Regions from separate parts of the Homo sapiens genome. Here all the other regions are linked to region 1. Evidence: promoter capture Hi-C in human tissues and cell types (Jung and others, 2019). All regions are on one chromosome and are shown on one strand. Each heading gives the region's core, a stretch centred on a gene start or on the middle of the fragment in contact. The rest is flanking DNA. Distances are from core to core; before and after follow the strand shown.

Evidence for each region. The method cuts DNA at HindIII sites, captures the fragments that hold promoters and counts their contacts. A contact is called where the count stands out against the background at its distance.
Region 2: a fragment that was not itself captured here is called in contact with the fragment with the promoter of LDB1 in region 1 in 1 of the 25 tissues and cell types used here (dorsolateral prefrontal cortex).
Region 3: a contact is called between a fragment that was not itself captured here and the fragment with the promoter of LDB1 in region 1, in 1 of the 25 tissues and cell types used here (aorta).
Region 4: the fragment with the promoter of BTRC here is called in contact with the fragment with the promoter of LDB1 in region 1 in 1 of the 25 tissues and cell types used here (aorta).

What each region holds. Positions count from the first base shown.
Region 1 is chr10:102,119,061-102,121,760 of GRCh38, forward strand. It overlaps LDB1 (LIM domain binding 1), which reads right to left and starts at 1,308. Exons shown (of 11, transcript NM_001113407.3): 1 at 1,026-1,308. The coding sequence starts at 1,050. It also overlaps a transcript of PPRC1 not described here. RefSeq lists silencers at 948-1,017, 1,108-1,187, 1,248-1,547, 1,568-1,697 and enhancers at 1,194-1,945, 1,946-2,697, 2,698-2,700. The HindIII fragment of the contact is 10,982 bases long and covers 1-2,700 here.
Region 2 is chr10:102,668,877-102,671,669 of GRCh38, forward strand. No RefSeq gene overlaps it. Among named protein-coding and RNA genes, the nearest start is that of TRIM8, 26 kb to the left of the region's middle. RefSeq lists enhancers at 219-821, 822-1,423, 1,424-2,025. The HindIII fragment of the contact is 7,795 bases long and covers 1-2,793 here.
Region 3 is chr10:101,454,687-101,457,424 of GRCh38, forward strand. All of the region lies in intron 2 of BTRC (beta-transducin repeat containing E3 ubiquitin protein ligase), which reads left to right. Among named protein-coding and RNA genes, the nearest start is that of BTRC, 100 kb to the left of the region's middle. The HindIII fragment of the contact is 4,588 bases long and covers 1-2,738 here.
Region 4 is chr10:101,352,847-101,355,635 of GRCh38, forward strand. BTRC (beta-transducin repeat containing E3 ubiquitin protein ligase) reads left to right here and starts at 1,319. Exons shown (of 15, transcript NM_033637.4): 1 at 1,319-1,382. The coding sequence starts at 1,335. RefSeq lists a silencer at 1,363-1,542. The HindIII fragment of the contact is 8,909 bases long and covers 1-2,789 here.

The DNA.
Region 1 (2,700 bases), core at 58-2,557:
GGGGATTTGTGGGGGAGTGGTGGGTGTCCAGCTGTGAAGTATGTAGCCAAAGCGGGCTACATTCAGGGACACTGACTTCCAGGAGAAAGCTGACTCCAGTCTGGGGCAGGAGGGCCAATTCCAGGACCCAGAGTCCCGGGGATGGAGACAGACAGTGTGCCGTGAGGCCCTCTGTAGACTACCTCTCCAGTCGCATGGCTTCTCTCTTTCCTCCTGGCAGTGAGGTAGACGCCCTCCGCCCCCCCCACCTGCCCCCCAGGAAAAAAACTCAGACCTAGGCTATCCCTGGCAAGAGCTGATATGTTTTGGGGAGGCAGGGATCTGAGCCTGGGTCCTCTCTCAAGTTCTCAGTTTTGGGTCAAGTATTGCTCCCCCAGCTTACCTCTCCACAAATCACTCTATTTCCTAGCCTGCCCTCCCACTAGGGCGGAGATGCCAGACCCAAGGGTCCAATTATCTGGCACCTCTTAGGAGTACCTCCGGTGCCTCAGGAGGGCCAACCTTCCCTGGCAACAGGCAGGAAAAGTTGAAGGTGGGGGGCAAGATGGGCCGCAATCAATACCTCCCTGCAAACAGGGTCCTCAGAAACAGCATGGGGGGGATGTCACAGGATAGGTAAGAGGCAATGGGCAGCAGGGAAGGGGGGGCAGCCCAAACCAGCCAATCACAACTCTATGGTGACCTGAGGGGGGGGGTCAAAAGTCCAGAGTCACTTCTGATTGGCTAACAACCTGGAATTCTGAGAATTTCAGCCCCCCCCAAACCTCTCCCCAATTAGCCTACCCCCAAAAAAACATACACATAAGCCACCCCCAGCGTCTCCTCCCCGTGTTTCTGGGCTGCTGCGCATTTACACAGTTGGGGAAAACGCTACCCGCCAGCCTGAGGCCCCGCGTAGCCCTTCCAGCCCCCGGCTTCCCCCATGCCATCGACGCCCCCCACACAAGTTCTCGCCAAACACGGGGTGAGGGGTCCGCAGGGACGGCTGGGCAGGAAGGGGCCGAGTGGCCGCACGCCCCACTCACCAGGACAGGCACAGCCCACTGACATCTTCACATCGCCCGCCTCTGGGGGCCCAGCCGAGTCACGGTGCCCGCCCCTCGCGGGGACAGGCCGGGCATGAGCCGCCGCCGCCGCCCGCGGCCCCCGCTGCGCTCGCCGCCGGCCCGGCCCGGCCTCGGCCCGGTGCGGGCGGCCCCTGGCTGCGGCGAGGGGCCTGTCAGGCGCGGAGCAGACAGGAAGGAAGCCAGGCAGGAAGGCGAGCGGCCTCTGCGTGTGTGCGCGCGGGTGTGAGTCCGCGGAGTGTGTGTCCGTGTGTGCGTGTGTGCGCGTGTGCGTGTGCGTGTCTGTGCGCTCCCGCCGCCGTCGCCGAGCGCCCCCCTCTCCGCCCTCGCGCTCGCGCTCCCTCGCGCCGGCGCCGGCTCCCCAGCCCAAGCCGGGCAGGGCCGGGCTTTATTAATATGCTAATTGTCCTGCTAGTGGGAGGGGAGAGCCGTGTCAAAGTGACCCGGGAGAGCGCGCAGCAAGCGACGACGTGCGTGCGCCGCGCGGCGGGCGGGCGGCGAGGGGCTGGGAGCGCTCGGGGAACGGCATGCATGTGACGCAGCTTTTAAAAAAGGAGACGGAGGCAGAGACCCCAGAGAGGGAGGGCGAAGGGGAGGGCTTGGAGGCGCAGCCGCGCGCTCGGTGTCCGTCCTCCGGGTGCCGCCGGATGGGGAGTCTGGCTGAGCCGGAGCGGGAGCCGCGGCTGGGGGAGGCGGAGCCGGGGTGGGCAGTGTGGTGTATCTCTCTCCACCCCGGGCCGCGCTCCGGGAGGGAAAAGGGACTGCAGACCCCCTGTCCGTGCTCCCTGCTGAGACGCCAGCCTTCTTCTGGAGGCCCCTTGTTTCGCGTCCCTACCCTAGGCTGGATGGGTAAAGAAGCATTCTCTTAATTCTTGTAGCAACCCCTCAACTCACCCCTTCCCTAAATTAACCACTCCTCCTTTGCCTGCGAAACCAGTTGGGACTAGAACTAAAAGGGTTAATTAAGTGGGGTCCCCGCCCTCCTCCGCCTAAGGGCTTGGGATCTGTGTTTTGCTGGGGGGAGGGGGCTGCGGAATGACCACCAGATTGGATTACGGAGGGGCGATAGGAGGCCATCCTTCCTTCTTGCAGACTGACGCATCAGTCAAGACACTCTCTTCCCTTCCCCCCTTTCTCCAGCCTTGGTGCCTTCACCTCCGTACCAACCGCCCAACCCCACCGCCTCCGACCCCCCTGCCTGGAAGCTGCTGTCCTTTGAGGGCTTCGGAGATGAGAACAGGAAACAGGCCCCTCCAGTGCCCCCTAACCCAGAGAGGCAGAGGCTGTGGGCCGTGGGGGGTTGGATGGGAGATGATGTGGATGGTCAATGTAAGGAACACTCCTTCCCCTGGGAGGAGCCTCCCAACCTTCAGTCACACTTCAAGGACTCCCCAACCCAGCCCTAGGAGGGGAGGGGCTCCATCTCCATCCCTTCCCAAAAGCTCAGCTTTAGCTGCCTCATAAACAGGAAATACCTATTAGCCAGGAGGAGGGAAGGGAGGGGAGCCGCCTGGAGTAGAGAGTTGACCCCCTCCCTCCTGGGGTCCCCAGCTGCTAGCTTTTCTTTCTTAAGTTTCAGTATGGGCTCCAGGGATAGACGATGGAGACTTGGACTAGTGTCTCCTCCCTAGGGCGT
Region 2 (2,793 bases), core at 220-2,719, 550 kb after region 1:
ATGCATATGGATCATGCTCACAGCTGCCCTGCTTGCTTAGTGTTCATTAGGACCAACTGTTTCAGGAGCAGTGGCAGGCGGGCGGGAGAGGGTGATGTACCCATTCACAGACTGGGGGTAGGGGGGCTGCCTGCAGCTGTGCAGATGCCTCCCCCACTGCCTGGATCAGCATCTCAGCCCCTGAATGCCCCTTCCTCCTGCTTTTTCTTCTTCCGACCTGCTGCTATGCCAGATCTGGAGGTCTCAGGGCGGGAAAGGGGCCTGGGGCATGAGTAAGGATGAAATCCAGGCTGCATCCCCATAGGAGCTGGGGAGAGTGAGGGAAGAGTTGGGCTGGATTGGATCCCTTGGTCCAGGATGGGCTGTTGTTTACAAACCAAAGCTTCTTATCCCCATCTTCCCAGAAGCCATCTGTAGCATTCCAGCAGGAAAACTGCTTTGGCACTGTCCCCTGGAGACTCGAGGGAAGCCCCATTCCTATGTGACAACCCTAGACCAGGCTTGCTCTGTGCCTCCAAAGGGAATCCAAGGGGGCTGAGGTTGGTGGACCAGCATCATTCTGCAGGATTCTGACGTCCTGGCAGCAAGGAGGGCTAGGGAAGGAGAATGCTGGGCTCCAGCCCGGGACCAGGTGCTCTAGGTGGGCCTGGGCCTGGGCTGGGGAACAGTGCTGAAATGTAGGCCCAGGGAAGGGTCTGGCTGGTGTCACAGGCAGGGCCAAGTGTAGCTGTACAGCTTGTGCCCTACCCAAGGGAACTGGCTGAGGGGCCTGCAGCTGGTGCCACGCCTTGTACTCTGGTGTGGGGCATAATCTCCCACATGAGTCAGTGGTGGCCTGGGTGACAGGCCTCTCTAGTGTTAGGAATGTGGCCAAGAGGGCCTGCCTGTGGACGGAGCCCGTGTGTCTCCTATGGTGAGCTCTTTCTCCTCCTGCTCCAGCGGTCTTGGGGGGCTCCTAGGGCTGTGCCTCCAGGGGGCTGGCACAGGGGCTTCTGAGTCCTGGGTGGAAGTGGAGGCAGCTGATCCCAGGCCAAAGCCCCAACTACAACAGCCTCCCCAGGCCCTTTCCTTGGTTGTAAGGGTGGGGCTGGGCACCTCCTGCCCCCTCTACTGGTGGCATCCAGAGCAGCAGCTGACTCTGGGACCCCAGGGCAGGGTCTTCTGGATCCTGAAAACAGGGTGAGTGGCAAAAAGCGAGGGCCGCCTCTCACCTACCTCCCTGGGGTGGCATCATGGAATAAAATGGGCTTTCAGCAAGTGGGCTGGCGGGAATCACAGTCAAGCCATTTCCTAGCTGTGTGACTCTGGGCAAGTGACTTAACCTTTGTGAGCCTTGGTTTCATCATCTGGGAACTAGGGACAGTAAACGGCTATCTTGTAGGGCTAATCAAAGGATGAGACCCACTAATGACTCAAAGGAGAAGCAGTTGGCTTAGCTAAATGGGATTCTGACCCCAACCCTGTACCTCTCAGCTTCAGGTATCCAAGCAAATTCTCCCTGCCCCCTCCTGGACACAGCTTGCTTTCTGCAGTTCTGTCATTAATATTTCATTTCTTTAGCAAAGGCTTTTTGTCCCTGGGACACTGCTATTCGCTCTGGAGAAGAAACTGTTCCGTGTTCCTTCGTGCAGAAGGATTCCTTAGCTCCTTTTCTGAGAGCAGAGCATTAGGAGCCAAAAGCAAACAGGTATTGTGGTATAAATTTGGGACCCAGCAGTGAAATAGGCCTGAGTTCAAATCCTGACTGTGCCCAGTTCTTCCTGTGCGATCATGGGCGAGTGATTCAAATTCTATGAGCCCCATCCTCATACTGTGAATGACAATACCTACAGTTAACAGTGTCTTTGCGAGGATTAAATAAGGTAACTGTGAAGTACCTGGTGCAAGTGGCTACCTCCTTAACTCTTTCCCCCGGTTCTGACACTGTGGGGGACTGGTTGTTGGCTGCACTTCCACGCCTGTGTGTGGTTGGTTCTGGACACACACACACACCAGTGCTGGACCAGCAGAATGACTGCAGGGAGCCAGGGCTCTCTTTCTCTCCTCCCTGCCCCTGCTCCTGGTGGCTGCAGCTTCTCTGTGTTCTGCAGTGTTGGAAAAGGAAATTACAGAACAGATTGCAATTAAGGGGGATGAGGGGGAGACAGGGACAGAGGCCGTGAGATGCAGCTTGACTGAGCACTAAACTGTGTTTGCGCCTGGAGCCAATCAGGAGCCTCTGATAAGAGCCTTTCCCACTTACAAAGCTAAGCAGGAGGTGTGGTTGGGGTGGCCCTGGGAGTCCCGAAGGGAGGGGGCTGCTGGCCTTGAAAGTCACAGAGCCACATGGGAGGGAAGGTGGGAGGTAGAGGTCTTAGGGGCCTTGGAAAGCCTGGACTCCAGACTTTCTGCCAGCTGTTATATTTGCTACCATTGATTTAGCACCTACTACTCACTGTACGGACATCTCATCTCATCCTCTTGACAACTGTGCAGCATGATTATTGCCCAATTTTGAAGATAAGAAACTGAGGGCCAGGCACGGTGGCTCACGCCTATAATCCCAGCACTTTGGGAGGCCAAAGCACGTGGATCACCTGAGGTCAGGAGTTCAAGACCAGCCTAGTCAATATGGTGAAACCCCATCTCTACGAAAAATACAAAAATTAGCTGGGGATGGTGGCACATGCCTGTAATCCCAGCTATTCGGGAGGCTGAGGCAGGAGAATCGCTTGAACCTGGAAGGTGGAGGTTGCAGTGAGCCGAGATCGTGCCACTGAATTCCAGTCTGGGCAGAAGAGCGAAACTCCGTCT
Region 3 (2,738 bases), core at 132-2,631, 660 kb before region 1:
CAGGAGGATTACTTGAGCCCAGGAGTTGGAGGTTACAAGGAGCTATGATCATGTCATTACACTCCAGCCTGATGTGATAGAGCAAGACCCTGTCTTTAAAAAACAATCCTTTCAACCCCGAAATTTCAAGATCATATCACCTGTTGGTGAGACTATGAAGAAACTTGCTTAACTGGGGCAGAAAAGATGTGTTGTGGGAAATAACTTGGTGTAATATAGTAGGGAATTCTGGATGGTCCTGAAAACCAGGCCTAGAACTTCATATTTGATTTCATAGAAATAAAGAGCCACTAAAAATATTTTAGGGAAAGACCATTACGACAGTAGCAGTGTTAAGAAAGATTAACCTGGCAATAATATTCAATCCAAGAAACTTTTTTTTTTTTTTTCTTTGAGACAGGGTCTCACTCTGTCGCCCAGGCTAGAGCACAATGGCATGATTACACCCCAAACTCCTGGGCTTAAGCGATCCTCCCGCCTTAGCCTCCTGAGTAGCTAGGACGACAAGCATGTGCCACTATGCCCAGCTAATTTTTTTTTTTTTTTTTTATGTAGAGGTAGGGTCTTGCTATGTTACCCAGGCTGGTCTTGAACTCCTGGCCCCAAGCAATCCTCCTGTCTCTACCTCCCGACAAGAAAACATTTTAAAATTCACATTATATTCTCTAGCTTTGTGCTGAACCTCTGAAATATAAGATGAAACAGAAACTGGCCCTGCCTTGAAGGAATTTACAGTAGTGTGGGGTGGGAAGCATGTTCATGTAGAGATATAAAGAGATATAAAGAATTAAGTGCCAATTGGAAGTGAAGTTTTTCTTCGGAGTAATTAATTCTAACTGCAGGTTAGGCGTAAGGGGATAAAGGCTTCTCAGAGAAGGTATCATTTTAGCTGACTCTTGAATCAGGATTTTTAGTAGATAAAGAGATTGGGAAAGAAGCCTGTTACATGTTAAGGGACTAGAATTAACAAAAACACAGAGATGAAAGAGTGGTTTCCTTATTTTGGTGAATGATAAATAATGTCATGTAAATGGTACAGAGACTTTGATGAAGTGTTAAGTTGGCTGTCTTATGGATGCTGTACTAAGAAGTTTGGGTTTATCCTGTTATTGCCAAAAAGCTATAAAAGGCTTTTGAACAGGAAAGTAACCTTTTTAGAATGATGATTCTAATGGCCGGGCATGGTGGCTTACGCCTGTAATCCCAGGACTTTGGGAGGCCGAGGTGGGTGGATCACTTGAGGTTAGGAGTTCGAGGCTAGCCTGGCCAACATGGTGAAACTCTGTCTCTACTAAAAACACACACACACACACACACACACACACACACACAAAATTAGCTGGGCATGGTGGCGCATGCCTGTAATCCCAGCTACTCGGGAGGCTGAGGCAGGAGAATCACTTGAACCCAGGAGGCAGAAGTTGTAATGAGCCGAGGTCGCCACTGTCCTCCAGCCTGGGTGACAGAACGAGACTCTGTTTCAAAAAAAAAAAAAGAATGATGATTGCCACTCTAGTGTATAGAATATATCATTTGGATTTAGGCAAGGATGTCAATGTCAGAAGGCTGTCTCAATAGTAATAGCACTGGTAAGAGGTGTTGTGGGTCTGGACTAGAGTAGAAGCAGTGGAAATGCAAAAGTAGGGTCAGATGTATTAAAATAGATGATTCAAAGAAAAAGTTTATAGACTGAAAATTAGCTAGATATGTTCAAAGAAAAAAAAGGAATGAGTAAAAACTGACTCTGAGGATTTAAGTCTAGGATAAAAAGAAAAGTTGGGAGGAAAAGAGCTGACCTAGAAATGAGTGGAGATGGTAAAAGAGTGCTTTAAATTTAGATGTGTTGATTTTGAGACAGTTTAAGCTTATCACCTGAATACTTTTTTAATATAATTACTTTCTTTTTTATTCGCCCAGTTTGGTTGTGGAAACATTTTATCCAAAATGCATCCCTGAGGTCTAATGCAGGAGCTTTAGCAGTATTTCCTTTATTGACCTTTTCCTACCCAAATCTCTGTTACTGTATCTGCAGGTGTTACAGCCCAAATGCATCTAGTTTGGAGTTAAATTCAAAGTTGACAGGGAGACTTTCATTCTGCCCTTTCAATTCTAAGCTAGTAAGCACTGAGCTAAGAAATAAATATTTGAGTTAATATAAAAGGTAACAAGTTGTGCACTGGGCTAAGAAATAAATATTTGAGTTAATATAAAAGGTAACAAGTTGTGTAGAATCTTTTACAAAAATATTTTAATATACTATAGTCCCCACTTATTCATAGGGGGTATGTTCCCCAGTGGATGCCTAAACCACAGATAGTTCTGAACTCCATGTATACTATGTTTTTTCCTATGGACACATACCTATGATAAAGTTTAATTTATAAATTAGTCATAGTAAGAGATTAACAACAATAAGAATAAAATAGAACAGTTATAACTATACTGTAATAAAAGTTACATGAATATGCTCTCTCAAAATATCTTACTGTACTGTACTCACCCTTCTTATGATGATGTGAGACAGTAAAATGTCTATGTGATGAGATGAAGTGAGGTAAATGACCTAGGCATTGTGACACAGCATTAGGTTACTACTGACCCTTTGACAGCATGCTACCTGCTTTAGGTGATCCTGGATTATTGAGCCATGAAGATGTTGGTGGTGGGATGTCAGGAGCAGACAATGTCAATGACTCATGGTCAAGTAGCATGTACAGTGTGGATACACTGGACCAAGG
Region 4 (2,789 bases), core at 69-2,568, 770 kb before region 1:
GCTTGAATTACAGGCGCGTGCCACCAGGCCCGACTAATTTTTGTATTTTTAGTAGAGACGGGGGTTTCTCCATGTTGGCCAGGCTCGTCTCGAACTCCTGACCTCAGGTGATCCACCCGCCTTAGCCTCCCACAGTGCTGGGATTACAAGCGTCAGTCACCGCGCCTGGCCCTAAATCACTTTTGTTGTTGTTGTTGTTGTTATACTGTTCTTTTTCATTGCTAAGTAATATTCCACTGTGCTACATATGGAATATGCTACAATTTGTTCATACAACCACCTGCTGAGGGGCATTTGGGTGTGTGTCAGTTTTTTAGGCTGTATAACCAATTATCACAAACATAGCAGCTTAAAACAACCTAAATCACTTTTAACCAAACCCTAGAGTTTTCTCCTCCTAAGGTAGACCCAATTTCCAAAATAAACCCATATTGTACCTTTTCAGGCCAAAGAAAATATTTATATGCTTTATTTGCTGGAGGCCATTATATTCCACCGTTGAAGGACTTTTGTTAAGTACCTGTTTGACCCTTAGTGCAGGGCTTACATCCCACAGTTAGCAATAGCAAGTTATGTGCTTTTTGAGCTCTAAACACTGAGAATTTCTTGAACCGAGTTCTATTCGGCCCTGACTTGCTGTGGGGGAGAAAAGATTCCTCGGGAGAAGTGTGGGTGGCGATGGCTTAGGAGGACCTTGAAATTCCGCATTTGTCTGTGAGCTGCTGCCAGGTGCCCATTGGCCCAGCTACTCTGGGTCGCAAACCTGCAGATGCCAGATACATGAAATTTGGGGACGTTCAGCTTCCTAAAACCACAGTTAGGCAGGTCCTAGGACCCGTGATTCTTGCCACAGTTTTTCTTAGTATTTGGGCTACAAGTGAGGCATTGGCCGCCATCTTGATATCAAATGCCAGGCAAGCCGCTACTGGCGTCGCTCGGTAACCACGGAGACACCCGTGCCCCTCCCGTTTCTCATCCTTAGAGGCTGTAAACTACAATTCCCATCAGCCGATTTCCTCTGCGTAATGGCAACTTATCTAAATCTGGCTTGTGGGCAACCGCAACGCTGCCGCAGTGAACTGTGGGAGTTGCGGTTCACGGCGTAGCCTCAGTTTTTTTCCTGGGGGAAGTTCCAGAACTACAAATCCCGTGAGCCAGTGGGCTTTCGCCTGCGCACGGAGAAGCCGATTCTCCTTGGCCCCTCAGCCTGCGCCTGAGAGGTAAGAGAGGGCGGGGGGAAGGAAGAGGAGGCGGGATCCGGGCGCTGCGTTGGCTGCGGCCTGGCACCAAAGGGGCGGCCCCGGCGGAGAGCGGACCCAGTGGCCTCGGCGATTATGGACCCGGCCGAGGCGGTGCTGCAAGAGAAGGCACTCAAGTTTATGGTGAGGAGACGGTGGAGGCCGGGGAACGGTGGAGGCGCTGGCGTTGGCGGCGTCGCTGGCCTGGGCCGCCCGCCCACTGCGGGACCGGGCAGCGGGACCCTGGGCCGAGGCTGGCGGCGGAGCGGCTGGAGGGATGGGATGGGAGCTCCAGAAAGGAGGCTGGGGGTTGCGGAGCGGACCCAGGGGTGGGGGCAGCGGCTCCGCCATCTTGTGGATGAGAGGCCAAGTGACAGCGGGAGCTTAATCGAGGAGGGGGCTCCAGGCGGCGCGCGGGGCCCTGGAGGGAAAGGGGCGTGGGGACTGTTACTGAAAAGCGGAGGAAGCTCTCTGGAGAAACGCCGTGAGGCCGCTGGCGGGGCCTTCCTGGTGTCAGGGTTACCGGTAAGGCCCGGGAGAGGAGGTGCATTCACGACTGGGGAAGGGAGCGCGGGATAGAGTGAAGACAGATACGGTGGGTAGAGGGGAACGGGCAGGGCTGGATGCAGATGGATTTAAGGGTGGAGGAGGGAACGCTAGGGCTGGTGAGAGGCTTATAGTTTTGTAGAATGAGGAGGGAGGATAGCCTTTGCCTTGAGGGTGGAATCCCAGCTTGGCCAAACTACTGTTGACAAACTCTGGAAGGGAAGAGGCCTCACTAAAGAAGATAAGGACTGGGAATGAGGACCTAGGGCTATAATGACAGTCCCTGGGAGGGGAAAAGGGTGTTGACTGTAAGCTAGAATTACAAATGTCAGGGAGGGGTACATAACGCTACTTTGAAAGGAGAAGCTAAATACTGTAATAAGGACAAGGTGATGAAAAGTAAGAGCAGATTGTCAGGGAAACATGGGTACAGGAGATTGGGGCAAAATGAGTATCTAATAGGGTAAGCAAAACAAAATTTAAAGGTAAATTGTGGGACGGTAAAATGTGGAGGCCAGGTGCTTTGTATCATTTTCTGGGAAAGGAAAGGCCGTGGAGATGAGAGTTGCAAAGACCCATAAGAAGTGATGAGATCAGTTGAGAAATTTAGGAGATAAAAAGGGTGGAGGTTGGTAGAGGGAAGTAAGTCAGGGATAAGTCAGGATTTGTGGTTACCCGTCAGTTTTAGGTTGAAGCACAGTGTGAGCAAAGATTGGATTTTGTGGGTGTGCTTAAACCCCTTGGAACATATTTCTTTAACTTTGTATCACGCTTTTCTTTTTGCTGTGCTTATCTTTGGCAAACTCGTATAGTCTGATATTTGATGCTTTTAATCTGATGCTTTTTGTATTTCCTAGGTGTAAAACCAGACTTTGTGGTTACAACTAAAGAATGATGGAATGCATAGATTTTAAGCTTAACAGGTGGCCTTAGGGACATTGATATTATTTGCAGTCCAGTCTTGCTTTTTCAGAAGTTATTGTGACTTGTCACTCCAAATCTTAC